Regions from separate parts of the Homo sapiens genome. Here all the other regions are linked to region 2. The links are contacts of gene promoters, found by promoter capture Hi-C in blood cells and fetal thymus (Javierre and others, 2016). All regions are on one chromosome and are shown on one strand. The core of a region is centred on a gene start or on the middle of the fragment in contact, and the rest is flanking DNA. Distances in the headings are between cores, read along the strand shown.

What was found. Contacts are between HindIII fragments. The CHiCAGO score rates a contact against its expected background, and 5 or more counts as called.
Region 1: a fragment that was not itself captured here is called in contact with the fragment with the promoter of ETS1-AS1 in region 2 in 6 of 17 cell types (activated CD4 T cells, naive CD8 T cells, non-activated CD4 T cells and 3 more); the score reaches 10.4 in activated CD4 T cells.
Region 3: a fragment that was not itself captured here is called in contact with the fragment with the promoter of ETS1-AS1 in region 2 in 9 of 17 cell types (total B cells, naive B cells, naive CD4 T cells and 6 more); the score reaches 15.2 in total B cells.
Region 4: a fragment that was not itself captured here is called in contact with the fragment with the promoter of ETS1-AS1 in region 2 in 14 of 17 cell types (total CD8 T cells, non-activated CD4 T cells, naive CD4 T cells and 11 more); the score reaches 36.5 in total CD8 T cells.
Region 5: a fragment that was not itself captured here is called in contact with the fragment with the promoter of ETS1-AS1 in region 2 in 8 of 17 cell types (non-activated CD4 T cells, total CD8 T cells, total B cells and 5 more); the score reaches 13.7 in non-activated CD4 T cells.
Region 6: a contact is called between a fragment that was not itself captured here and the fragment with the promoter of ETS1-AS1 in region 2, in 5 of 17 cell types (naive CD8 T cells, total CD8 T cells, non-activated CD4 T cells and 2 more). The highest score is 7.6, in naive CD8 T cells.
Region 7: a fragment that was not itself captured here is called in contact with the fragment with the promoter of ETS1-AS1 in region 2 in 2 of 17 cell types (total B cells and naive B cells); the score reaches 5.8 in total B cells.

Annotation. Positions count from the first base shown.
Region 1 is chr11:128,816,955-128,820,718 of GRCh38, reverse strand. No RefSeq gene overlaps it. Among named protein-coding and RNA genes, the nearest start is that of KCNJ1, 48 kb to the left of the region's middle. RefSeq lists an enhancer at 851-1,357. The HindIII fragment of the contact is 6,751 bases long and covers 1-3,764 here.
Region 2 is chr11:128,523,949-128,527,716 of GRCh38, reverse strand. It overlaps ETS1-AS1 (ETS1 antisense RNA 1), which reads right to left and starts at 1,575. Exons shown (of 4, transcript NR_120581.1): 1 at 1,402-1,575; 2 at 299-1,184. The region is part of intron 3 of ETS1 (ETS proto-oncogene 1, transcription factor); the gene reads left to right. The HindIII fragment of the contact is 5,425 bases long and covers 1-1,976 here.
Region 3 is chr11:128,858,500-128,862,724 of GRCh38, reverse strand. The region is part of intron 1 of KCNJ1 (potassium inwardly rectifying channel subfamily J member 1); the gene reads left to right. All of the region lies in intron 1 of LOC107984409 (a long non-coding RNA gene), which reads right to left. Among named protein-coding and RNA genes, the nearest start is that of KCNJ1, 6.7 kb to the left of the region's middle. RefSeq lists a silencer at 2,557-2,851 and an enhancer at 2,752-3,011. The HindIII fragment of the contact is 4,002 bases long and covers 899-4,225 here.
Region 4 is chr11:128,189,261-128,193,094 of GRCh38, reverse strand. No RefSeq gene overlaps it. Among named protein-coding and RNA genes, the nearest start is that of LINC02098, 18 kb to the left of the region's middle. The HindIII fragment of the contact is 248 bases long and covers 1,618-1,865 here.
Region 5 is chr11:128,221,766-128,225,815 of GRCh38, reverse strand. The region is part of intron 3 of LINC02098 (long intergenic non-protein coding RNA 2098); the gene reads right to left. Among named protein-coding and RNA genes, the nearest start is that of LINC02098, 15 kb to the right of the region's middle. The HindIII fragment of the contact is 3,793 bases long and covers 1-3,556 here.
Region 6 is chr11:128,101,321-128,105,178 of GRCh38, reverse strand. LINC02725 (long intergenic non-protein coding RNA 2725) reads right to left here. Exons shown (of 6, transcript NR_183639.1): 2 at 3,795-3,858. Among named protein-coding and RNA genes, the nearest start is that of LINC02725, 7.5 kb to the right of the region's middle. The HindIII fragment of the contact is 683 bases long and covers 2,167-2,849 here.
Region 7 is chr11:128,875,122-128,878,815 of GRCh38, reverse strand. No RefSeq gene overlaps it. Among named protein-coding and RNA genes, the nearest start is that of KCNJ1, 9.7 kb to the right of the region's middle. The HindIII fragment of the contact is 2,242 bases long and covers 1,093-3,334 here.

The DNA.
Region 1 (3,764 bases), core at 768-3,267, 290 kb before region 2:
ATGTCTGATGCAAATTGATTTCCTAATGGTTATCTGTTCTGTTATGATTTTTTTTCTAAATGACAAAACTTTGAGTTATGCAGAAAATCACTGGATGATTTGATGTTCCTAAAAGAGACAAAGAAAGAGCGAAGGAAGGTAACGCTGTCAAGAAAAGCTGAGGTGTCTGGAAAGTATTGCTTGAATATATGCAATGCTTGATTAAACATTTCTGAAAGCCAGCGGCTCTGGGCAATATAATCATCAGTGGGGAAAGAGATATTGCATCTTCTGGGGAAACCAATTAACACCAAAGATTGGATTGGTAAAAATTGCTGGCAAGTTTTAACAGTGGTCTAGCTCCATACTTTAACTGCATCTTCCGTGATTTTTATTTTCTCTGTGTATTTCCGGAATTAACAGTAACTGAGCAGAACGGACAGCTCATGCTTCCCTCAGAATTTCTGGGCAGCTGTATTGGGTTTGGACACGTTTTGTCCAGTAGGTGTAGTTTGACAAATAGACATGTTCTGGATCTTTCTAGAAGCCAGGCACTGGCTTATAAAGAAAGAGTTAGACAAAGTTTCTGCCCTTCATTCCCTTATTGTCTAATGGAGGACACAGACTTCAGATACAAATAGATCCTGGGGTCTTGTATTACTCTCTCTTGACAGAACACAACAACCAAAAATAATTAAAAAGCCATGCATTCTTCACCCCAGCCTCTATCAAAAACATTAACGTTATAACCCAGAACATTGCTTTTTCATCCTTACCAGCCACACTTCCAATTTCTCCCCTGCACACCTAAAACAAGATTTTAACATTTCATTTTCTCCACTTGTCTGTGCCTCGTTCCTTATTATTATCTTGTTAGCCTCTCTGGTTAACTACTCCTTCATCTCTTTCTCTCCTTTCTCTAACTGCTTGCCAGATTCTGCATCTCAAAAGGCACAAGGGTGTGTGCGTGTGTGTGTGTGTGTGTGTGTGTGTGTGTGTGTGTGAGAGAGAGAATATGGAAGCAGGCAAAACTACAGTTTAATGGATCTTGTGGTCCCTTTTTGCCATGCATGGGCAACACATACACACACCCAATGAGATATGTGCTGTTGTAAATGTGTAAGCACGCATCTTCCCTTCTTCCTTCCCCTTCCTTCCCTCTTCCTCCCCCTCCCACTGAAGTCTTGACTGCAGGAGCCATGGGTGCAGCACAGCAAGGCAGGTGTCAGGGGGTAGTGATATCAGAGCCTGAACGGGGTGAGAAGGGCTTCCGTGTGGCGCGTCCTGATGGGAAGTGTTAGTGCCCAAGTGGAGTAAAGAGAGCATGGGACGCAGGGCGTGCAGCCTGTCCTGGCTGTCAGGGCTACAGCTGGTTGAGGAGGGTTTGCCTGTGGAGGCGTTGCCTGGGTTGGGGCATCAGAGCTTGAACAGGGTGAGAACAACATCCACACAGAGGCACTGCCTGGGGTGGGGTGAGGAGGGTGCCCATGCAGTGGGGTGGCCTGGATGGGAGTTTAGGGCCAATGCAGGGAGATGAACACGTTGCATGGAGGTGAGGGGTGCAGCAGAGATGGAAGACCGGGTGCATGCAGAAGGATTGACAAGGAAGGGCTTATAGGATGTCTAATGGAAACCATTCTTTTCACTGTCAAATAAAGGAATTACAGACACAAAAGGGGAATCAACATCCAGTGTTGGATTAGAAATGAATGCTTCTGAGTGAACTCAGGGTTTCAATATAGATAGGTAGTAGAAATAAATACAGAAATAGATGTATATGCATAGTCATATAGATAGCAGAAATAAATATAGATATAAATGTATAAGCATATACAGTCATGCACTGCATAAAGATGTTTAGGTCCGTGAAAGACCCCATATGCAATGGTGGTGCCACAAGGCTATAAAGGAGGTGAAGAATTCCCATCACCCAGTGACATCGGTGCTCATGCCCTGTGGAAGTGCAATGCAATCTTCATGTCTGTGGTGACGCTGATGTGAACAAACCTACTTCCCTGACGGTCTATGAAAGTCTAGCAGGTGTAGAGTACGTAATTCTTGATAATGATAGTAAACAACTATGTTACTGTTTATGTATCATTACTTTAAAATGATAGATTTTTATCATTATTTTAGAATGATAGATTTTAGATATACGTAGATAATGCCTACTTACATGTTTAGAAAGTTAACTGTAAAACAGCCTCAGGCAGGATATAGGCTAAATATGAATTCATGTCTTCATTTCTAACAAAAATTTCAAGGAGTAAAACGAAATATTTTTTTAAATAAAAACAGTGTATAGAATAAGGATATGAAGATATTTTTATACTGTACAATGTGTTTGTGTTTTAAGTTAAATGTTATTACCAAAGAGTAAAAGAGTTAAAAAATTTAGAACTTTATAAAGAATTACGGTAAGCTAAGGTTAATTTATTATTGAAGAAAGGAAAAGGTTTTGTAGATTTAGCGTAGCCTGAGTGTACAATGTTGACAGAGTCTGCAGTGGTGTGCAGTTATGTCCTAGGCCTTCACATTCACTCACCACTCACTCACTGACTCACCTAGATTAATTTGCAGTCCTGCAAGCTCCATTCATGGTAAGTGCCCTATACAGGTGTACCATTTTTTAACTTTTATCCTCATATTTTTACTGTACCTTTTCCATGTTTAGATACACAAATACTTCCCATTGTATTACAGTCACCTACAGTATTCAGTAGAGTAACATGCCGTGCATGTTTGTAGCCTCGGAGCAATAGGCTGTACCATGTAGCCTAGGTGTGTCATAGGCTGTTCTATCTAGGTGTGTGAAGTACACTCTATGATATTCACAACTGTAAAATCACCTAAGGACACATTTTCCAGAATGTATCCCCGTTATTAAGGAAGGCATGACTGTATATGTATGTATGTACGTGAGTGCATATAGTCACATACATACATACATAATATATGTGTATGTATGTATCTACGTCTATTGCCTGGCTCTGTACACTGAGGGAGCCTGGGAGCAGGGACACCCCATTAGCAATTGGCACATCTATCCCCCAGGTATTGGGTTCTAAATAGCATTTTCCACTAAAAAGAACTAGGAATCCATGAGGAGATGACTAATTCCAGGGCTAGGGCAGAAACTCCAAAATAAGTTGTTGTGCGAGAAAGTAAGGAAGCACTTAAAGACTGATGGGAACATGTCAAAGGAGACAGAAGCCAGCGTGAATATCCTTCCATTGGGACAATGTAATCATTAAAGAACAGATCATATCCACTCAATAAAATAGAGAGCCATGAGTCTTAGAGATATAAATAAATGAATGAATACTTTGCAATTTGATGTTGAATGGGATATTTACATATTTTGAAAGTAAACCTCCGCAAAATACTTATTAATTACAAAGGGTAAAGGAATAACTTTTCAAAGGAGAAGGCTGGGAGGCACCACCTTAAACAAAGAGTGAACTTCATCAATAACGGGATACGTTGAAATGATGTACCATGCAATGGAATACAGGAGAGGAAGGCAGCATGACTTCTGCGATGGTCCTCTCAGAAAAGCCTTGGCTCAATCCAATCGCGAAGAGATACCAGCAATCCCAAATTGGGGAACATTCTACAGAATACCTGACCTGTCATATTCAAAATTGTCACAGACCTGAAAGACCGAGGGAGACTAATGGTAGATGACAGCTATACACAATCAGTGTTTTAGAATGGGAACCTTTTGCTCCAAAAGACTGCAGTGGTGACAATCAGCCAACAGTGCATGGTGCCTCGGGATTACA
Region 2 (3,768 bases), core at 326-2,825:
TGTAGCCCTGGGATGCAGAGCTTCTAGGAGACTGGCTGTCCTCTTCTCTCATATTATTAAAGGATGTTGGTTCTCTTGCCATCTGTGCTATTGCCATTATCCCTCTACCTCCTCAAGAGTCCAATTCAGGACAATTTAAATTGGAATCCCAATTACATGATCCCCAAAGGCTCACAGAGTAGCCTGCATTCTGCATTTGCAGCAATTCCAGGCAACATGCTCAGCCTGCTTCAGGGAAGCACACAACACTGAGTGTGGATGAGACCTCAGAACCCTCTAACCTTGGGCAGCTCCTTACCTCTTCCTGTCTGAGCCATGTTTGATTTGCTGCAAGAGGAATACGTGTCTAAACTGCTGGATTTTAAAATGTCGCTTGGTCTGTGGATTAGGCCAATCCACCCCACATTGTTGGGGCTGCAGATGCAGTTGAATGGTTCATAATTATAGTCTAAAGAAACTGCAGACAGCAATAGAGCCAACCCAGGCCCTTTCTCTCCTGACAGCCCATGCCAAGCTGTCTCCCACAGGGAACCATAGTGTGGTTATCCTGCAATGTATTTGCCCAAAGACAATACATCCAGTGTAGAGAAGTTGGATTTCTAGAAATTGAGTCTGCTCATCTATCTACTCCCATGTCCATTGTATCCTGTCTTGTGTCTCAAGGGTGTCTGGTACTTCTCCTGCCAAAGTGAAATGCAAAGTAAATGCAAGGAGATGCCAGGGAGAGAACTGCTATCAGGGCATCTGGTTCTAGTACTGACACTGACTTTTTTAGATTGTGTGGCCCTGGAAATAATAATTTCCTCACTCACACTCATTTTTCACCTCTGGTAAATAGGAGTGCTGGACTTGGAGAGCACTGATAAACTCCCATTGAGCTCTAACATGTGACAAATCCAAGACCTAAGGTTTTGTCTCCAAAGAGGCACTACAAATGTGATCTTCTTTCAGAATTTAAACTGTCACTTTTCTGTGACTCAAAACAAATATAAATCTAGTTCTCTTCTCCAATCAGGTAGTTCTCGAATTTCTCAAGTGAGGCTGATGCTGGGCAGGTTGCCAGTTTAAGAACTGAGGAAGGGTCTTGAAGAGATTTTTAAATGAAATGTGGTGATAGTTGTTCTATCTCTCGCTGGAGATCGTTCAGGAAAATTGAGCATCCAAGCTATTCTGCAAAGAGATGGCTGTAGACAGACATTTAATGTGATTTCCCACATATTCTACCGTATACTAGATCTTAATAACAATAATCAAATACTAATTCTCACCTAGACACTGTGCTAAATTCTTTGCATACATTATCTCATTTAATCATTCAAATAGCCTTAAAAGGTGTGTGCTGCTATTATCCCTAGTTGAAACATGGAGGAACTGAGGTTCGGGATTGTTTAAATGACTTACCTGTGGCAATTCAGCTGGCTAGTTGGTAGAGTAAGAATTTGAACCTGAGTCTTATTCCAAAGCCCACACTACTATCCTCTTTGTTTTCTTATATTGAGCTTTCCAGGGCAAACAGGCTCCCAAGTCCTCCCCTCTCCCCCAACCCCACCCCACCCTCCCTTCTTCCCTCCTGACTGCAGCTCCTCCTACCCTCATTGTTTATTGTGCCTTCTAAACAATAGCCAATGAGTCTGTGTTCCATTCTAGGGAGAGCTAGGGCTGATTTTATTCCCTGAAACAGAGATGAGGTTGTGACACAAAAAGGTTAAGTGGCTTTGGTGAGGTCACAGAGCCAGCCTGCAGTCAGCAACAGTACCATCTGAGTCCCCTGGCTTGGGTCCCTTAACTGACCCTAAGGCTTTTTGGCATCCAAGTTTAATTAAGAGAGTTATTTTAATTTTCCTTCCTATCTCTAATTTTCCATTTTATTGCTGCTTGATAATGTAGATATTGAAGTGCCAGGCATTTTTCTTCCCTAGTGTGACTTTTAATGACTAAACTTCTCACATAGAAACCACTTGCCTTAGAAGTAAGCTTTCAAAGCTTGTTTCTGTGTATGACAGAGACTGTTGCCTTTTCTCAGAGAAAAATGAGACCACAAATGCAGCTCAGACAGGTTGTTGTTAATTGAGGGCTTTTTTTTTTTTTTTTTTTTTTCTAAATCTTACATTTATACCAGTAAATCAACATCTGTGAGTCATAAACTGGTTCTGGATCAGCCGTTAGTGGTCTGAATGTTTTTGTACCTACCTTCAGTAAAGCATATTTTAGCTCAAAACTCAGAGATTCTTTGTTTTGTTGAAGTTCAAGACTCAGGAGTAGATAACATGCTAGGACACTTCTGGAGAGGGAAAGTCTGTCTTCCATGATTGTTCAACATTAAGTGTATATTTATATTTCTTTTTTATTGAAGTTGGGGTGGAGTTGAGGGAGGAGTATAAATAAAAAAGAAAGTATGCTTTTTACATACTCCATGTGCTTGAGGAATTCCTGTATGAAGGTGACTATTTTCTTAATATTATTGTCTAGCTCCACTCTTCTGTTCCCCAACTCCTGCGGACTTTTCTTGGCCCTTATTGACTTCACGTTCCTAGTGTAAGGCAATTCAGCACTTGGTAGGATATAATTAGCCGAAGTCTAAGGAATGCTTAAAAATACAATTCTGTTTTTTCCCAAATGCAGGAGGAACAGACTGCTGCAGTACAAGCACAAGCACAGAAGTATTTATTTGATTGATTTTTTTTTTTCCTGAGTGCCTTAAAAACCAGATATGGTATTGAAGTATCTTGCCCAAGTGGATGAAAGGCAACGCTTGGCTGCTGTTGTTTGGCTGGTGGGGACACTGAGGCATACATGTAACCGAGTGGACGTGAGTGCTGGGGATAGAGGTTCTGCTCTACTATGAAGGGAAAAGGGCACAGCCTCTGACACTTTTTAGTTCATCTTCACAAGCCAGAGCATATCAAACTCACTTAATCATTGAATTAGGAAGCCCATAGTGACCAAAAAGTTGATAGTTCATCATTCAACACATATTTATTGAGCTCTGTAATGTCTTAGGCACTAGGCTAGGCATCAATGTTTTAGCGTATGATAACATAGAAATATCATTTAAAGTCCATATGAACATTTAGAAAAATCTACTTGTGTCCTAAAGAGAATGAATAAAAATTTCATTTATCAACATTGATTAGATTAATGAAACATGACCCTGGCAGACCTGATCAGATTATTATATCTTAAATATGTAAAAAATATTTTAACATGACCTTATTAGTGCTCTTCATCCAAATCCAGGGTTCGATGCATAACTTCTGATGGCATAAATATTCATAATTAATATCATCTGGAGGTAACTTTCCTGGCAGCCTGTGGTGGCGCCTGGCTATCTCTCCAAACTGCTGCTTTACGCAACCCTATTCCTTGATTTGGACATTCACTCATTTTGTTTCTGTGCTTCAGGACTGGATTAGGAAACGGATGATTGACTATCTGAGTTGTCACTATGGAAGAATTAGAAAGAATAATTTTCCTCATTGCTAGAGTGGAAAGTGTTTACAGTTTAATCATGGTGGGCTTTTTTAGTATCTAATTTGGGTGGATGTTAGCAGCAGTGTTTAGGCTAGTCTGGGGAAGAAAGTTGAGGAGCAAACTGGGGAAGAGAGAAAGGAGTTGCTCTGAGGAATCTGCATTTGAAAATAGAGAAGTACTCACACTTGGATTAAAAAATGCCAACATTTTCTCAATACAACATCAACAAAACAAAATTCCCCAAAGCAACTCTAGATTTGTTCACTTCTTCTCCTGATGAATTCATAGTGAGTAAGG
Region 3 (4,225 bases), core at 1,650-4,149, 330 kb before region 2:
CTTAGACCTCTGGGAAGCCCCCGCTGTGCTGGCCTTAGTGAAGTGTGATGACACAGTCCCTATGCTGCAGAAGCTCTGGTCCCCGTGAGGGGATGAGTAGGGATGGCAGGTACAAGAGTGGCTGCATGACACATCAGCGAACTGGCAGAGCATGAGCACGTTCTAACCTACCAACCAGGCTCCCCGACCCAGTCTGCTTCTAGGGCAGCCCCGGGGGGGATGGAGGGGGCGGTAGGACACAGGGCTGTTTCCTCTCCCAATACTCCATCCCCTCAGAGGGAGTGGAGAAGGGGAGTCAGGAGACCCCCAGAGCGCTCCCCAGGACCAGGTCTGAGAGTCCTTTCCAACATGGGTCTCCTCACTCCTAGTCCTGCTTGAATCCATTGTGCATAAGAATTCACACCCAGCCTGGGCAATGCTCACCACTGAAGAGACAGGATGAGGTCTGCTGGGGACGGAGGCTGCCAGAGAGTGGAGAAAACCCCGTGCCGCACTCGGATTTTCTTCCCCTTATTACTGATACACCTGCTCCTTTGGCTGGGTGTTTCCCAGCCTGTGGAGTTTACAGATTTGGATTTCTACAAAGTTGCCCCTTAAGTATCTTGTGGCAGTGGGGAAAGGGGTGGAGAGACTGGGAGGATGGCACTGCAGCAAGATGAGCGGTGCGACCCAGGCACCCAGCGCACAGCAGGCAAATCCCTTCCCACGCGGATGACCACGGCCACTGGGACCTGAAGCTGGGAATAGGCAGCCACCGGAGAAGCGCGGCCGAGAGCTGGGGGCTGAAACTGCTTTCTCATCTATGAAGGGGCTGGTTTTCTCATCCTCACTGAAGGCCAGAGGAAATTAGACTTCAACCTCACCCGTTAGGATGTGGGTTGGAGATCAGGAAGAAGCTTGGGTTTTAGGGGTGTGGAGAGGCAGGAGTCCATTTCAGCGGGAAATGGACACAAACTTCTACAGACACGGAGCCTGCATCTATCTTTCTGGGAGGGGTTCCGGTGGCCGCTTACCGACAGGCAGGGCACGGGGCTGGTGTTTTTGGAAATCTTATCACAAGGCCCTCACTCCTGGGCTTGCACCAGGGAGGCGAGCCCCAGTTATCCCGCTCTGCAGTGGCTCCCAGGAGCAGGGGTATGTTTCTGACGACAGTCACCTCTGGCTATTGCTCTGATTCTGCCTTTCTTCAGGTTGCCTGGGTCTATCCCATAAATGAGCCTGTGATCACTGGGTACAAGCTCCCTTGCAGCTTCCTTTCTGTCTGAGGTCCCAGGGATACCCGCTAGCCCTGCTGCTCACATCTTGCCTCCTCACTCGGCATGTTTCTCTTTCTGTTCTAAATGTCCCAGCTCATGCCCCTCCATGGTACCATCCCCATTGACCCCAGCCCCACTAGGGCCCCCAATCCTGGGTCTCAGCTGCCAGTGAATGCTGCAGCCCTGCTTCAGTTGCTCAGTCAGCACCCCACGCAGAAAAGCGCCTCGGGCGGAAGCTGGCGGCACCAGAGTTTCTGTCTTTGCCTGCGTAGCCATGTGGGTTAGGGAGCCCCAGGGACGCCAACAGCCAGACCACAGGCGGGCTAATTTCCAAATGCTGACACAGTGAATGCCACCCATATTTCACCAGTGACTGGAGAGCAGATGCTGGGCATTCGTGGGCCCTGCTTGTGCCTGGGGATGGAGAGAAGGCAGGACACTTGAGGCAGATGCCAGTGCTGCCTCTGAGCTGTTGATGCTCCCTGCCCTGGAGTTCACAAAAATAATCCTCTACATGGTGCATAGAGTGTTTTTGTGTTTTTTGAAGTATTACAGGCAGGCCCCGGCGACATGATCTTCGTCTCCCAGATAGGGAAATTCTGAAAATCAGGAAAGGGGCTGGGCGTGCCCCTGTCACATAGCTGGTAATTGGAGCTGGGTCTCTGGCCTTCAGGGCACTTTCCTCTGTGGTCACACCTGGGTTTCAGAGCCACCTGGCCTCCACTTTTCTGAGCAGCTTCCTTCAGCATTTTCTTGTTTCCTCTGTGCTTGCATCCCGCCTGCCCCTTGGGGTCACCCTGTTTCCAGGCTATTGCGTCTCCAGGCCCCTTGGTCCAGCTGATGTGGGTTACAAGGCCCACCCGTGAGGTGGCAGTGGGCTAATTTTCAATAATCCAGTTGGTGACTGTTCTTCAGAGAGAATCTTCTGGAATCTCTGACTTAGTGACGGCACAGAGACTTCCTGAGTTCCTTAAGTCACGTCTTCCTTCCCTTAAGTCACTTCTTAAAAAAATCAATTCATTTCTACAAGAACTCATGTATGCATTTCACACAGTGAAACCTGTGCAGTGTCACGCACTTATATCAGACGGTCATTGCCTCTCTTTTACATTGTCAGTATGGAATTCTTCACGGGAAACCTGCCACAGTGTCCTGCCGGCCTGTCTAGTCAACAGTTCTTCATGTCTCACTGAAGTCCCTCTTGCCATAAATCCAAGTCATGTTTCTATAGTGTCGCTCATCCATCCGGATTCTCCCAAGCACTGCATCATTTAATCTGAACGATGGCCCTGGGAAGTAGATAGCATCATTGTCATCTGACAGATGAGAAATCCGAGGCCTGGCTCCTGCCCGGTCTGGGGCCAGACAGGTGTCCTTCCGGGCGCCCTTCTGAAATCAATGCCGACCTCTCTTGCGCAGTGCCCTCGGCAGGCGCCAGGGGGCGCTGCTGCTGCTGGTAAGCGGGAGGCCCGGCGGAGGCGAGTGTGGGCCTTGCCGCGCCTCCTCTCCCGCCTGCGCTTTGCTGCCCGCCGTCTGCAGCACCAGTGCCTACTTACGGGTACTTTTCAAGGTCACTTCTAGTTACTGTTTCTTTCTAAGTCCTTATCACAATCTATAATTACTCTGTTTATTTGGCTCCTTTTAATTTCCTGCCCAGCTCCCCCACTTCCCTGGGTCTTGAGAAGGCCGTACCCCAGTGCCCAGCACAGGCGGCTCCCACTACAGATGCCCTGAGAGACGCAGACGGGAGGGCTAGCCAGGAGAGGGCACGCAGGGAAGGGAGGTGAGGAGGGAGGGCCAGCCTTTCCCCCAGACCTTCCTTCCTTTTCCCTCCTGCCTTAGACATAGGAATTCACTCATCTTCTGGGCCAGATCTTTAGGGAACTTGGCGTGGAGACATCAGGTTAAGATCTGGGTTCTGTCCGGGAGCGGTGGCTCGGGGCTGTAATCCCAGCACTTTGGGAGGCTGAGGCAGGAGAATTGCTGGAGGCCAGGAGTTCAAGGCCAGCCTGGGTAACCTAGTGAGACCTCATCTCTACAATCAATACACTAGCCCGGAGTGGGGCACTTGCCTGTGGTCCCAGCTACTTGGGAGGCTGAGGCGGGAGGATCCCATGAGATGGGAGGTAGAGGCTGCAGTGAGCTATGATTGTGCCACTGCACTCCAGCCTGGGCAACAGAGCAAGACCCTGTCTCAAAAAGAGCTGCGTTCCTACCCCAGTTCTGCCTCATATGAGTTTTTAAAATTCTCTAAACCTCAGTTCCCTTCCTTGTCAAACAGAGAAAATTAGACCTACTTCATGGGGTCGCTGTGAGATTGAATGAAATAATTTCTGCCAAGCCCCTACCACAGTTGCTGGTATGTGACAGAGATTCAACAAGTGTCTGTTCCTTTTCCCCTGTGGGAATTCCATGCCTAGAAGGGACTAACCATTTAACCCCAATCCTGTAGAGTGAAATCAACCCCTTATGTGCCTTCAATCACATAAGAGGGGTGACCTGCCTGGTGGCATGGGGGTCTGGTAGCAAATACACTACCACCTTTCAGGTCTGTGCCAAAGTCACATGGGAAAGGATGAGTTTTAATGAGTTTCTTCCAATAATTAAACCCAAGGTAGACATATAGCTACCAACTGAGTCCTATAGTAGACTAAATTCTAACCTTCTAGCTCTGTGAACTTGGATCAATCACTTAGCCTCTCTGGTGTTTGATCTCCTCCTTTAGACACTGGGAATAGTAATGCTGTCTATGTCACAGAGTGACATAGACGCTCCGTAAACTACTGAGTTTACCCCTGGAGACCGCCTGGAACACAGTGAGATCTGTTAATGTCAGTGATTTCTGGTCCATGGATGAGAAGGAAAATTACCCCAACTGAACTAGTTTCAAGAAAACTTTATGGAACATTTATTATTGGCCAGTCTCTTTTATACATCTTGTCTTCCCTCACCTTCAAATAACTCTGAAA
Region 4 (3,834 bases), core at 492-2,991, 330 kb after region 2:
GAGAGTGTTTAGACCAAGACTTACAGAAGATAAAGAAGGAGAAGGCGAATATCTGTGGGATGAGCCTTGAAGGCTGAGGAAAAACCAAGTGCAAAGCCCCCAAGGTGGGGAATGTCCAGCCTGTCCAAGGAAACACGAGAACTTGTCCCTCTGAGCAAAGTGAACTATGGAGGCTGCAGTGGAGAGTGTATCAGAAAGGACAGCGCATATCCTACTGCTCTTTGTAGGCCCTGGTAAGAACCCTGATTTTAATTCCATGCGAGATGAAAAGGCCTTGGATAGTTTTGAGTAGAATGACATTATCTGGCTTACATTTTAAAAAGATCACTCTGGCTGCCGTTTTGAAAATGACCTGCAGGAGTTCAGGGGTCAAAGAAGGTCAATTAATATTTAATTGCTAATTATTATTTCAACAATAACAATAGACATTTATTGGATAGTTTGATATTTACTTTATACCCATTATCTCATTAATTTTCACAGTCTGAGGGGTGGCTATCATCCTTATCCCCTTTGTGTAATTTCTAGTTGAGGTTTCATGGGATTTTTGTGACAGTTGATTCAACACACATGAGAGTGTGTGTGTATGTGTGTATGTGTCATATTTGACTTGAATATATTTAGTTTTGAAATAATTTTTAATTGACATAATATGAATATATTTGAGATTTTTATGCCAATTCGTACAGTATTTGGAGATGCTTAGAAAAACAGTGATTCTCAACCCTGGGTATACATAAAAATCACTAAAGGCTTTTAAATTGTCCTGCCTTAGAGATTCTGACTTAAGGAGCTGGTGGTGGCCCAGGCATCTGTGCTTTCGAGAGCTTTTCAATATCCATTCAGAATGGAAAAACACATTTAAGCGGACCTCCAATACCTGAAAGGACAAAATATGGAATATCAAAAATATCCCCAAATATTTTGATTTTGAATTACATTATTTTCAAGAAGTAAATGTATTACTGTCAAATTTGTGGACTACCTCTCACATGTTCATCAGGTCATACTGTGTGTATTTTGCAGGTGAGCTTTCTTCTGCCTTCTTCTTTTGCCCCGATTTCTTTAACCTCTTCAAATAAAACTGTGTCTGTTCTTATAAAGTACATTATTTTTAAAGTAAATTAAAAATATAGTACCTGAACACTTGGCAGATAATTCTTAATAAATATTTACCTAACTGCATGAACTCAAATTTTTATGAAAGAATAGGAAATTAAACAATAATTCCACAAATCATCAGGTTTCTATGGAGAGATGTACAGAGATTTCAGACCTAGAAAATATGGGCACTTAAAACCAGGGGTGTAAGAGGAGGGAAGTGATGAGTATGGGAGGAGAATTTTCTCTTTTCCCACAGTCTTTCTTTCAGCCCCGGCTATTTATATAAAGATATTACAGATAGCTACTTCTTGTCAAAGCTGGGGCTCAGGCAACAGCTCAGTGAGGCTAGGGAAGGTCAAGACCATAAAGCCACAAAGAAATAGCCTTAGGGACAAGAGAACTTGTGAGTTTTGTGCAGCGGATCAGAGTCAGGACGGGAATTTCTAGAAATGGGCTAGGATTCTTCAATAAAGGCCCACTGCTGTAACAAATCATGCTAACATTTCAGAAGCTTAATGGAGCAAGATCTACTTCTCGTTCATATTTGTATACAACGTCAGTCCATAATGGTGGAGAAGTGATACTTCGTCCATTGTATCACATTTGTTGAAGTGGGGACTCAGAAGTCCCCCATCTGCTGACTCGATGGACTCCAGGGAGTTGCAGTTCTCCAGATTCTCTTCAATCTGCTAAATCATGAACAAGCAGAGAGCAGATCATGGGATTCCGGGGGCCAGGCCAGAAATTCTGATATATAAGCTTCACCCTTATTCCATTGGTCAAATCTAGGTCACGTAGTGCCACCTCATAGCAAAAGGAAGAAAATGAAAAATGGTAGAATTGTCTGCCACAGGAGTTCAGGGACATGCAACTGAATGGTAATCTTTTTAAAAAGCTATTTGAAATGTGTTATCATTTCAGAAATTTCAAACATTAATATGTCTATTTCAGGAGATCACAGATAACTGATCTTTCAACGTGACATAATCAATTATCACATTTGAACTGAGAAACAGAGTCCACATTTTTTAAACATATTGTAAAAGTATAAAGGCAAAATAAATTTACTCTGTGCTAAATTAGGCAACAGCATTGGCTGCCTGATAGGGGAGATGTGGGAGAACCAGCATCAGCTATCTGGGATGGAGTCAAGTGGAGAGTGGGGTCCAGGGCCAGGAACTGAAATGTGGGGAAAGTGGGACATAAGGGAGTCCTATTGACACCCCTCACTCTGACTTCAAGCCAAGAGGTGAGCATTGGCTCACCAAGAGCCAAGAGACTGAATCAGGAGATGGGTGTTTCACTTTGCCCAGGCTTCAATTGTTGGATGGCGTTGAGGTGAGCAAAGATTCAAGTGGGTCTTTACGGTGCCTTCACATCTTTAGGTGGCCACACTCTCCCTGCTGCTCTGTGGTCTAGATACTGGTTCTCCTGAGTGCCTGAAGCCCTCTCATCCAGGACTGGTTGTGAGCACTGCATACGCCCTTTGATGAGGGTCGGTGGTGAGAAGGAGGGGTTCCAAGGCTGTGTTCTCACCTCTTCTGTGCTAGTGAGAAAACCACAGCTCGCCTGTTCTCAGAAGCTCACATGGACAAACCCTGTACTGGAAGGGACTTTAATATGGTCATGATCCCTTAATATTGTAAGACAGAGAAAATCTTTCAGGGTGTGGTTTCCTGACATTCCCCATAACGAAGAGTCTACAAGCTGTGTGTGTGTGTGTGTGTGTGTGTGTGTGTGTGCACGCGTGCACACGCACGTGCATGCACGTGCGTGAGAGAATTGTAGGAAACAAACTTTAAACAAAAACATTTCTTGAGAAACATCTTGTGTAGACCTAAACGTGCGTTATGATCTTTTGCTCTAGGCCCCATGTAGAGCTGAAACATTGTCCTGAAACTTGACCCCCCTTGGCCTACTCCCCTCATTGAGAAGTGCCCTTTCTCCCCTCATTGAGAAGTGCCCTTTTCAAAAGGGAAGTAAAAGCTGTGAGTAGCACCTATTTTGTCAGAGAGGCACAGGATCAAGTTCTACTTTGGCCTGCATGCACACTTCATGCATACATCATAATCTGTTTCATTGATATCCCCAGCCAGTCATACAACACCTTCTGATCTCTAGGTTTGGAGCCATATAAATAAATAAGAAAATAACTTTTTTTTAAATAAAAAGATTTCTAGACTAAAAAGGTACTTACTGGTTTCTTTCTTTCTTGTCTCTTTAATTTTGTATATGTTCCAGATATTTTTCTTGTTGTTTGGAATAGAAGTTTTGGTGAATTTACTTTAACATTTTGTTATAGACTTTTGGCCTTGTGATACGAAGACAAGTTACTTCTTCTTGCCCACCAGCTAGACAATTAGCTAGTCAATCAACCAACAGATGCTTAATAAGATCCTACTATATGCAAAAGCATTCTGGTAGCTACAGTAAAGTTTAAAGCAGAGAAAAGTCAGTTCTGCCTCTATTTTATATATATCTATATAATGTGTATATATACACATATCCATATTTTATATTAACATATGAATATGTTAATATATATGCATGTTTTATATGCGTATACATGTATATGTATATTTGTATATGCACAAATATACATATACATGTATATGTATATTTATATATACATATGCATGTGTACATTGTATATATACATATACATTTGTATATATGTATTTATATGTATATATACACATATGCATACATGTATATATGTATATATGTATA
Region 5 (4,050 bases), core at 411-2,910, 300 kb after region 2:
AGACTGAGTATATTTTAACACTCTATTTACATATACTAGTGCTGATAATTTTTTAACTGAAAAAAAATTTCTGGAGAAAATGACATTAAGGTTATTTAATTCCTTCATCAATTTGGTATCCAGAGTTAAATTGCCTCAATTTTTTTAAAAAAATTATTTTACTAAACTTGTTTTCATCTGGACAAATCCCTTTTATTGTAAATTTTATAAAAAATGTCTCCTTTGAATTTAAATCAATTTTTACCCATATGCAATTGTAAACTATCTTTTGTGGCCATAACTTCTACAAAGTCCAAATTTCATGTCTAAAAATGTTACCTAAATTTCTGAGAATATTTTGATATTTTAACAAATATTATTGTCATCAATATTTACTGTGTATAATTTTGCTTATTTTCAGTCTATCTAAAATGATTTCTATCAAATTTATTTTTTGTCTGTTTAATCATAAGGTGATTCTTTGCCCAATGTTTCACTTTCAACAATTTTACTGTGTGGAGTTTTAGCTATTGTTGATTTATTTGTGTGTTGATTGCTTCTATTATGCTTGATTTTTTTTTTTTTTTTTGAGATGGAATCTTGCTCTGTCACCCAGGCTGGAGTGCAGTGGCATGATCTTGGCTCACTGTAACCTCTGCCTCCCAGGTTCAAGCGATTCTCCTGCCTCAGCCTCCCAAGCAGCTGGGATTACAGGCATGCACCACTATGCTTGACTAATTCTGTATTTTTAGTAGAGATGGGGTTTCACCATGTTGGCCAGGCTGGTCTAGAACTCCTGACCTCAGTTGATCCACCTGCCTTGGCCTCCCAAAATGCTGGGATTACAGGTGTGAGCCACTGCACCTAGCTGCTGCTTGATTTTTTTATAATGTGTCAATTGTGTAAATGTTTACTTTACCAGCTAGTTATGATTCTTGAATTAATTTTTTATCTGTAATGGCAGGTTCAAAATGTTCACATAAGTTTCACTTTTACTTTTCTAAATCTGCATTAAAATGGCCTTGTACTTGAAAAAAGTTCTTTTTTTCTTCTTTAGAAATACATGTTCCATATTTCTCTACACAGATACAGAGGAGGGGGAAAACATATGTTCCTGTGGTAAGCAATCCCTTACACGTGGAGCCAAGGTAGAAAACAGGCAGGAATGATACGAAATCTGAAGTGAGGACTGGCTCTGAGAATAGCCATATCTAGTGGCAGCTGTGAGAGACCTATAACCAATGACAAGTGATGTCTTGGCTTGTAAAAAAAAGTCGTGACTCTTTAATAATTGCCATTCTGACTGGCATGAGATGGCATCTTACTTTGGTTTTGATTTGCATTTCTCTAATGATCAGTGATGTTGAGGTTTTTTGCATATGTTTGTTGACTGCTTAAATGTCTTCTATTGAGAAGTGTCTGTTCACATCCTTTGCCCACTTTTTAATGGTTTTTTTTCTCATAAACATGTTTAATTTCCTTGTAGATTCAGGATATTAGACCTTTGTCAGATGGATAGACTGCAAAAGTTTTCTCCCATTCTGAGATAGTTTCTTCTGCTGTGCAGAAACTCTTTAATTAGATCCCATTTGTTAATTTTTGCTTTTGTTGCAATTGCTTTTTATGTATTTGCCGTGAAATCCTTTCCTGTGCCTATTTCCAGAATAGTATTACTAGATTTTGTTCTAGGACTTTTATAGTTTTGGGTTGTAAATTTAAGACTTTAATCCATTTTAATTTAATTTTTGTAAATGGTGTAAAGAAGGGGTCCAGTTCCAATTTTCTGCACATGGCTAGCCAGTTCTCCCAGCACCATTTATTAAATAAGGAATTATTTCCCCGTTGCTTGTTTTTGTCAGGTTTGTCAAAGATTAGATGGTTGTAGATGTGCGGTCTTACTTCTGAGTTCTCTACTCTGTTCCATTGGTCTATGTGTCTGTTTTTCTATCAGTACCATGCTGTTTTGGTCACTGTAGCCTTGTAGTGTAATCTTAAGTCTATTTGTGGGAATGTAACTTAGTTTAACCATTGTGGAAGACAGTGTGGTGACTCCTGAAAGACCTTGAACCAGAAATACCATTTGACCCTGCAATTCCATTACTGGGTATATACCCCCCAAAATATAAATCATTCTATTATAAAGATACATGCACATGTATGTTATATTGCAACATTATTCACAACAGCAAAACTATGGAATCAACCCAAATGCCCATCAATGATAGACTGGATAAAGAAAATGTGGTGGCTGGGCCCGGTGGCTCACGCCTGTAATCCCAGCACTTTGGGAGGCCGAGGTGGGTGGATCACGAGGTCAGGAGATCCAGGCCAACATGGTGAAACCCGGTCTCTACTAAAAATATGAAAAATTAGCTGGGTGTGGTGGTGCGCACCTGTAATCCCAGCTGTTCTGGAGTCTGAGGCAGGAGAATCACTTGAACCCAGGAGACAGAGGTTGCAATGAGCCGAGATTGCGCCACTGCACTCCAGCCTGGCAATAGAGCGAGACTCTGTCTCTTAAAAAAAATAAAATAAAATAAGAAAAGAAAAAGAAAATGTGGTACATGGTACATATACACCAGGGAATACTATGTAGTCGTAAAAAGGAATGAGATCATGTCCTTTGCAGGACATGGATGGAGCTGGAAGCCATTATCCTCAGCAAACTAACACAGGAGCAGAAAACCAAACATCACTTCTTCTCACTTATAAGTGGGAGCTGAACAATGTGAACACATAGACACAGGAAGGGAACAACACACACTGGGGTCTGTCGGAGGGGGAAAAGCATCAGGAAATACAGCTTATGCATGCTGGGCTTAATAACTAGGTGATGGGGTGACGGGTGCAGCAAATCACCATGGCACGCATTTACCTATGTAACAAACCTGCACATCCTGCACATGCACCCAATAACTTAAAATTTAAAAAAGAGAAAGAAATCACAGCCAGTTCTCATTTGTGCTGAGGGGAATTCAGCAGGGGTAACCAAGCAGAAGCCAGGGCTCCCTGCTGAAGCCACAGTGCAGGTGTTAAATGTTTGGTGATTGCCCTAGTAATGCACTGTGTGGAGAGGCTAAAAACTGCTTTCTCCTTTGAGATCTCCTTGATGCCTTATCTTTCCAGGCTAAGTCAATCCCCCATTTCCTCCGAAATGTGTGTGATATTCTGAAGTGGAAATACTCTGAATTCCAGTTGCAGCTAAGGGCTTACTTGAGCATAGAAGAGGTTAAGTCTTCCGACTTAGGTCTCCTTTGTGGCTATTTGAAAAAATTCAGAGATGAGGATCTCCTTGGGTTCAGGAGATTGGTTTCCCAGGGGGACACCCAGAATCAGATTCCTGCACTGAGCAGACTTTGCATGGCTTCCCATGACCTGCTGCTATCTCAAGAATTTTTAAGTACTCAGAGAATGCCTTCTTGTTTATAGTGAAAAATAATTCAAGGTTTGAGGGATTTATTACTCAAGGCTGAAGGATAAACCTCTGCATTCTTCATTTCGGACCAAGGTGGCTCTCCCTAGAGGCTCTCAGCACCCTTGTTTCTTCTGGGCCGCACACTTCTTTTTTCAATAAGCTTCCGAGGCAGATAAGAAGAGGTGACCTCTGTCTCTACCCACTCTTCTGAAAGGTGGAGTCCACAGAACAAGTCTTGCATTTATATGAAATTGAAATCATTCATTGTTTAAAAGGCATTTATTGAGCATCTGCTGTGTGCAAAATATTGTTCTTTATGTTGTGAAAAATACAAAAAATAAAAACCCAAAACAGAAAACGACCAATCAGAATACATTATCTCTTTCCTCAAGGAGACAATACAGGAGAGAGGAAAAAGATGAATAATGTTACATCTCAAGCCAAAAGCCTGGACACTACCTTGTGAACTCCAAGGGAGACATTCAAGGGTGTGGAGAAAGCCCAAACATGCGAAGGCAGAATGTATACTTTATTTATCTCTGGGGTAAACAAAGACATGGAGGCAAAGATATTTTGTAGGATAGTTCAGGCTGAGTCCACAGCACACATGTTGTGGAGTGCTGGGAAATGAGATTGAAGGTGGAAATGGTAGACTG
Region 6 (3,858 bases), core at 1,259-3,758, 420 kb after region 2:
GAGACTTTGATTAGCGCTCACTGAACCCACATTACATGTAAAAGGAGCAGGTAGAGGAACAGTCAATTATGGATTAATGCATGCTCAGTAAATCTACATTTTACATAAGATAAAGTCAACAGAGTAGAGGAATAAGTCAAATATGTATTTATCTTGGGGTGGGCAGAGGAATAATTTCTAGTCTTGTCTATATCCAGTGCCTGTGAAAATAAGCTGTTAATTTACATTGTCAGGGTGAAGGAGGAGAGATACGTATGTGTCCTTCTATCTTGTTTAGGAACAAAAGGAGAGCCAATTTTTTGTGTGAATCTGTGTCCAAGCTGAACTTTTGGCTTTGGCATAGTTAGTTTGGGGTCCTGAGATTTTATTTGCTTTCATTTCGCAAAGTCAGAATAGTGGCTATTTCTAGGGGGAAGAGAGTAGAAAGGATTAAAGGGCAGGAGAATGGAGTTATTTTAGTTGCATTATTTTTATCTTTGTTGAGTTATAAGGCTATTCACTTATAATAGTTGGTAGAACAGTGTGTAAATGTTTTAGTGACATTTCTGTACTACCTAATAATTCTCAGTTTTAGAAGTGAAAAACAGTAAATAAAATGTTACAGTTTAAAAATATGTAACAGCTGCGTTTATTTTGTAAAACTATGTTACATAGCTAGCAGTTCTTAGCTGTTCTCATTGTGATGATACTCCTTAGGATGATCTGTGAGGTTTCTGATCCCCTGTGGGTTTATCCTCGTTAACTTTTATACTTTGAGGTTGGTTCCTCCTGCTTTCAGATGCTGGCAGCAATGCCTGACTTTAACCCATCAGATTATTAAGAGGATGATATTCACAATCTTTCTTATACCCATCAACAAACCAATCAATACAAGCTAATTATTCATTAGTGTAAATACAAACACTATGTATTGATAATCAATTCTGTTGGTACTGCCTCTGTCAGCTTGCGCCAAAGTACTGCAGTGGGAAAGCTCAGTTGTGTTAAGTCTGCTTCAAAGGGAGCTTGACCTCACCAGTGAATCTAGAAATGATCTATCGTTAGAAATAGGGAGTCGCTACATTCACTAAGTACAATTTGCCTATCCCTCACACACATGAAGACTGTCCTCTCTATTCCCATTTTGCTCTAGTTTCTATCTTTGCTGTTTACTTCAAGGATCAAAGCCTACGGCTGGGATTTTGACAAAGTGCCCCTCTTATGGAGTGTTTTCTTTGCATATGGAGTGGTCTCTAACAGCTTTTTTTTTTTTTTTTTTTAGCCGTGCTTCAGGACTTGGTCCCTTCTCTCTGTCACTCTCTCCACTTATGCACAAGATACCATCCACTCTTTCCTCCCGAAAAAATTTCATCCCAAGTTAAAAGTATACTTTTTCCGTTCCCTTGGATAATTCCACCAGCACACAGGGTAATAGTTTCCATCTTAAACACAAAAAGATCCCCTCTTAATCCCTGTACAGCTTCACAACCTCTCACTTCCACCTCATTTCTCTTCCCACTTCACACCAAACAAACTTCAAATGATTTGTCCATAGTCATTGTCATCACCTTGAAATGCTTTCCCTTCCAACCCATCTGAATCAAGATTTTTTCCAACCACTGCATTGAAACCATTTTTGTCAAAGTCACGAAAGACATTCATCTCACTAAATCCAGTCAACCATTCTCTCTTCATCTTACTCAATTTTCATACAGCATTTGACATGAGACTACCCCATCCTCCAAGCACTTTCTTCATTTGACTTTAGAACAACCCACTCCCCGGTTTTTTCTCTTACCTGGTTGCTTATTTCTTCCAGTTCTTCTTTGCTGAATCCCCTTCTCTCTCTGACTTCTAAATGCTGGCATCCCCTGAGATCAGTCCTTACCCTGCTGTTCTTTAGCTACATTTTTGCTTTCACCCAGCAACCTTATTTTAAATATTAATTATCTATGTGGTGATGTCTCCCAGAAATATAGCTTTATCCCTAAACTCTTATAAATTCAAACTTGAAAATTTACTTGCCTACTTGACAGTTTTACTTGGCTGTCAAGTACATTAAACTCATGTAACAAAAACAAAACTTACAAAACTTTTATTTTTTTCTTTCTAAACTTGCTTCTTTCTCTATTGTTTCTAAATGAATAAGTATTATCATCATTCACCCAATGATTCAGGCCAAAAGCTTTCATTCTCTAAATCTAATCCTTCAGCAAGTTCTGTCAGTTCTGTCTTCAAAATGTATTCTGAATCCAGGACCTTCTCTGCACCTGCACAGCTGTATCTCTAGCCCAGCCTGCTGCAGCCTCTCACCTGGTCTCTGACCAGGCTACACCTATCTCACTCAGTCCTATCTGGTCTACCTGACACTGCTTTTGACTTCCCACAGACCCTTTTTCACACAGCAGACATAATTATCCTTTATAAATAAATATGATATCAAGTTTCCTGCATAACATTCTCCAATGACTTTTCTTTGTATCTTAAATACAAACTCCTGACTGAGGGCCTAGAAGATACTATGTGACCTGCCCCTCACCTATACGTCCAATCACTCTCTCTGTTTATTATGTTCTAGCTGTATTCGCTTGCTTGCTTCTTCTTGCGTGTCCCAAACCTATTCCCATTCCACAGCCTTTACACTTGCTGTTCCTTGCCTGGTATACTCAACCCAAATTGCCCGGTGACTAGATTCTCATCCTTCAGAATTCTCTCCAGATTCTTTCTTCCAACTTATTTAACTCTAGTTCCTCATGCTATGATTTTCTGTATTACCTTGCTTCGTACTGTAATTCATCTCTATCACCATCTGAAATTATATATAGTCAAACTATTTTTAATGGACTGTCATCTTCTTTAGAATATAAGCTTCAAGAGCATTATGCAACATGCAGAATTAAAATGATTTCTTCTCACAGGACTCCTGATAACTCTAAAGTGGTCATTTAAATCTTTAAGATGTGAGTCCCAAAGCCCTCTTGCTCTGGGGAGAACAGTTTCCTTCACCTTAGTGCTATTCAGATAGAAATTGGCCACGATATTAACCTCTGACTGTTATTTTTGAATAGCACAATGGAGTGAGATGAGCTGGGTCTAAACTCTCCCCAGGACAAATATTTTTCAACCCAATGAAAGATTTATATTTTTATTTATTTTGATGTGCAGTGAAATATCTTTCTCCCTTACCTTACTTCTTGAAAAAGAATGAAGCACTGTTGCTTTGAAAAGTTGACAGACTATTCTAATCAGTCATCCTCAGGTTTGGATTTGAAGGTAAATTGGTCAAGAGTAAAGGTCCAGAACATGTTTCCTGAAGCTACTATAAGTCAAACTCTAATCCTAACCACAGATAAATAAATGGTTTAAACCAAATAGCTCAGAGGTTAAATTGTACCCTGAAAAATATGCTTTGAGCTTCCAGGAGACTCAAAAAATATGAACCTTTTTCCAAGTTACTAAATCAAACACTTGGCCCACTGATTTTTAAAAAAGTAAAACCAGCATAAACTAAACTATATTACCCTTGTAATGGGACTGTGATAGGAAAAATTATAAGTATCTTCAAGAAAACTCTAGAACTTTAGATGCTACAGATAGTGCTGGTAAGCAAATAATACCTATTTCACAAGGCAAAAATCTTTCAAATTACATTCTATTAAAATTCATAATTTTGATTGCTCTGCTAAACTTTGCAGAGTTGGCTCTGGCTTAAATATTAAGAATTAGGAAAGGAGGTAACAGGAGAAGAAGCTAAAAGCCAAAGACATCCCGTTCTCATAATGTGTTGCTGGAAATGGCATTGCATTTAGTTTTACCTTGGGTTATATGGGGAAGTCCTTGTTATTACTGATCTCCACTTCATTTCAAATAGGGCAATTT
Region 7 (3,694 bases), core at 964-3,463, 350 kb before region 2:
GAGGAATGTGAGAAGCAGGGCCATCACCATCTGTTGCTTCTCTTGTCAGAGGTTCCAGCTTGAACTGCCTGCTCTGTGGGAATCTGACAGGTCTGGGCATGACTGAGGGGGTGGTGGGTGGTCCTCCCAGGGTCTACTGGCTGCCAGAGGAATTGTAGCCTCCAGTGAAGATCATCAGCCAGACCATCATAACCTGGTAACACCGTGGGTCTTCAGAGAGGAGGCGGAGAGGGTGGGTTATACACACAGTATAGGGGCCACTCAGCTTTGTCCTCAGCCCAACCCCCTGCAGATGTGGGTCTTGGTGTCTCTCCAGAAACAGAATGAAAGGTACCTCCCCTGCTCACTCTGCCAGAGATGGCACAGTACAGGCCTCCTGTGTGTTCTGGCAGCCCTGTGGAAGGCGCAGTGGGCTCTGTGGATCTGACACCTTGAGCACCTCATGCCTTGATCTTGAGTACGTGTGAGACCCCAGAGGGCACCTCTTGGAAAAGACTTTCTTGGGTCAGGGTGGTGACACTTTGCAGGGGAACAGGCATCCTGGACTAGCAGGTTGGGTGAGGCAAAGAAAAGGGAAGACACAATTTTAGTCATCCTTCATTCATTCTTTGGACAGGCATCACTCTTGGGAGCTCTGGAGTGTGAGGATCTTTGGGAGATACAATGTTGACTCGGAGGAGGTCCCTACTCTCCTCCTAGGACTTCAAGCCAGTAAAGGAGAAAGCCATGATCACAGATAAAAGCAACCTGAGAAGTAGCAACAAAGTCCTGCAAGAGTGCGAGAGTTAGGGGAGGAGGGCGTGACCGCTGACTTGGGGGTTGGAAGCCTTCATGGAGAAGGCTTTGGGAGGCTGCTGTCTCCCCTCTGCTTGCTGGGGACAGAGGTCAGGAAAGCAGTGAGGCCACATCTTCAGAATGAAAAGTAGAATTTCTGTGGTGAAGCCACCGTGGGGCTCTTGGCCTGTCTTCCTGCCCTATTTGTATTCATCAATCCAGCCTACCAGACAGCCATCTCTGCCACAGTGCTCAGACGACCTATATACACACCAGCCTTTCCCAGAGATTTATTTTTATATATTTACTCTTTAAGCTTCTAGTAAGTTGCCCACATTTTTTTTGGTAGACCTTATCAGGTTTTTTTTTTTTCCAAATGTGTCAAAAAGGAGAGAAATGTAAAAGGAAAAAAAAAAAGAGGAGGCACTCTCCAACCTGCCCTTGTGATTTCACCACCAAGCCCAGGCACTGGGGTGGAGACATTTTAGGTCTTCCCTGAGGTTTGCCAAGTTCCTCACCCCAATTCTTGAATGTTCGAAGACTGAGAGAGAGTATTTTGTCTTTATGATCTGCTTAGTATTTATGCTTCCATTGCACAGTGGAGGTGGAGTCTGGGATCTGAGCCCTGGTTCTCTATCTATCATCCGTGTTCTCTTGTGCAAGTTAACTGCCAACAAGCCATGAAGGTGCAGGCTGGGAGACACATGGGTTCTTTTTTTTTTTTTAGATGGAGTTTCACTTTTGTTGCCTTGTTGCCCAAGCTGGAGGGCAATGGCACCATCTCGGTCACTGCAACCTCCGCCTCCCGGTTCAAATGATTCTCCTGCCTCAGCCTCCTGATGTACGGGTTCTTTAGCACTTGTAAATGAAACAAGTCACTTCTAGCTCAATACAAATCACCCTATGAATTCTAAGGGGCATTAATAGGAGCATGATGTCTAGAATGAAGGAGGTGATGGTCCTATTTCACTGGAGCAGGTGGGAGCGCACCTCCAGAGGGCTGGGCCCCGAGGGCTAGGTGTGAAGAAGGTTCTTGCAGGCTGGAGTGTTTGGGCGGATGTTGTTGAGGCAGAAAGCACAGGAAATATGGGCAGGCCAGAGGTGACTTCTAAATTCCCTTCCAATGCAGGGAGTTTGTGAATCTATGAACCTTTCTTTTTCATTCCAGGAAGCAGCTGCTTGGGGAGTGGAGGTCCAAGGCTTTTCAGATTGCTGGTGTGGTACCTAGCTATGGAAACTACTGAGCAGTCAGGTTCACAGAGTTAGTGCTTGAGTGCAGCCTTGACCCCTGGTCTCACCACCGACAACACCAGGACCCCTTTAGGATGGGTGTTCAAGGCCCTCCAGGAGCACCTCTTGCTAAACCTCTGCTGCCTCATGCCTAAATACCTCTCTGCCTCCCTCACAGGCAAAAGAGATCCAGACGATAGAGTAACATCAAAGGTTCTGTGAACTGCAGGTGAACAGACGATCATCTTCACCTACGGGGCTCATCGCCGTTTCATTCCTGTGCTTCTCGGGAGGAAAGTTACCGCGGAGCAGCCCCTCAGCAGAGGAATCCGTGGTGGAAACCCAAGCGTCCTGGCTGCAGTCTCCTGGGAACTGGAGTGTGAATGCTTTCCTTCTGACGGCAGACAGCTGAGAACCTGCAGGGTTAAAAGTGCACAGTCCGGGAAGGTTCTGTTCCCAGGACAGCGCTATCGAGTCCACTGGGCGCTCCACGCGGTCTACCTAAAGGGAACAGCCTGCGGCGTCGGCACCCTATTCATCTCTAAGGGTGGGGAGATGGAAAAATACCGTGCTGCTTAGCATTGATGAAGCGCTTGCTTCAGGGAAACTGACTAGAATCTATTTAGTCTCCAGAGCATTTCTGAGAGGCAAGCAGGCCTCAGGGCACTGCAGAGGGACCACATCTTTTTCTAGAAAGCCTGGGAGAGAGCAGAATGAGGCCAAGCCTGAGGGCTTCTGGCTCCTTCTCTTCCTTGTGTAATGCCCTTTCTGACTGGTGTGAGTGTCAGGGCTCCGTGAATAACCTACTATGTGTCTCTGGGTGTGAAGTTTGGGCTATGGGATGTGTCTGCACAATATCCTAGAGAAGGAAACATTTTGTATCTGTCAAAAACCTACTAGGGATGTCAAAATATGAAACAATATTTGTAAATATGAAATTCTGGGGAAAACGTGGCAAAACTCCTCAAGATTGACAATAAGAAACAAAGAGAAGTGGTGAGCTTCCTCCTACAGAAAGGCCCCTGGCTCCTGCATTCCAAGAGCTGGTCCCTGCCCCAGAAGGAGGCCACAGGGCCTGTGTGGAGGGGTCTCCACAGTTAGGGAAGGATGAAAGGTCACCCTCCCCAGCACAGCAGATCCTGCCACCTTGTTCCCACCTGCCCTTCTGCCTTGTCTGCCAGCACATCTTCTTTTAAGCCCGGCTTTCTCCCCTTTACTCTCTGGCCTCCATGCTGCTTCTCCTTCCTCTACTCCCCACCTTCCATGACCACCTGCTGTAATTTTAATCTTTCTATAGTGTCCAGTCCAACAGCACCTTCTCTGTGAAGCTTCTCCAATTTTCCCAGCTGGACAGAACTTCTGTATATTCATAACCCTTCCTATGCATTTGTGCCTTATTATGTTTGTGACTGTCTTCTCTTCTATAAGAGATTCAACTCTTAAAGGGCAAGAGCCATGTTTTGTTTATCGTTGCAACTCCTAAAGTGCCTAGCATGCTGCCTTTTATTTAGTAAGGCCCTCAAAAAGCTTTGGATGAATTAAATGGAATCATCCAAATTTTCCCTGCATTCAATTCGATTTCTTTTTCAAAAAAAGGTCTTCAACCTGGAATTTCTCACTGAGTGAGATGCTTTCATCTGCAGTGGCAGGCAAGGTTTCAGAGGGAAAGCATTTTTATCTCTTGCATGTG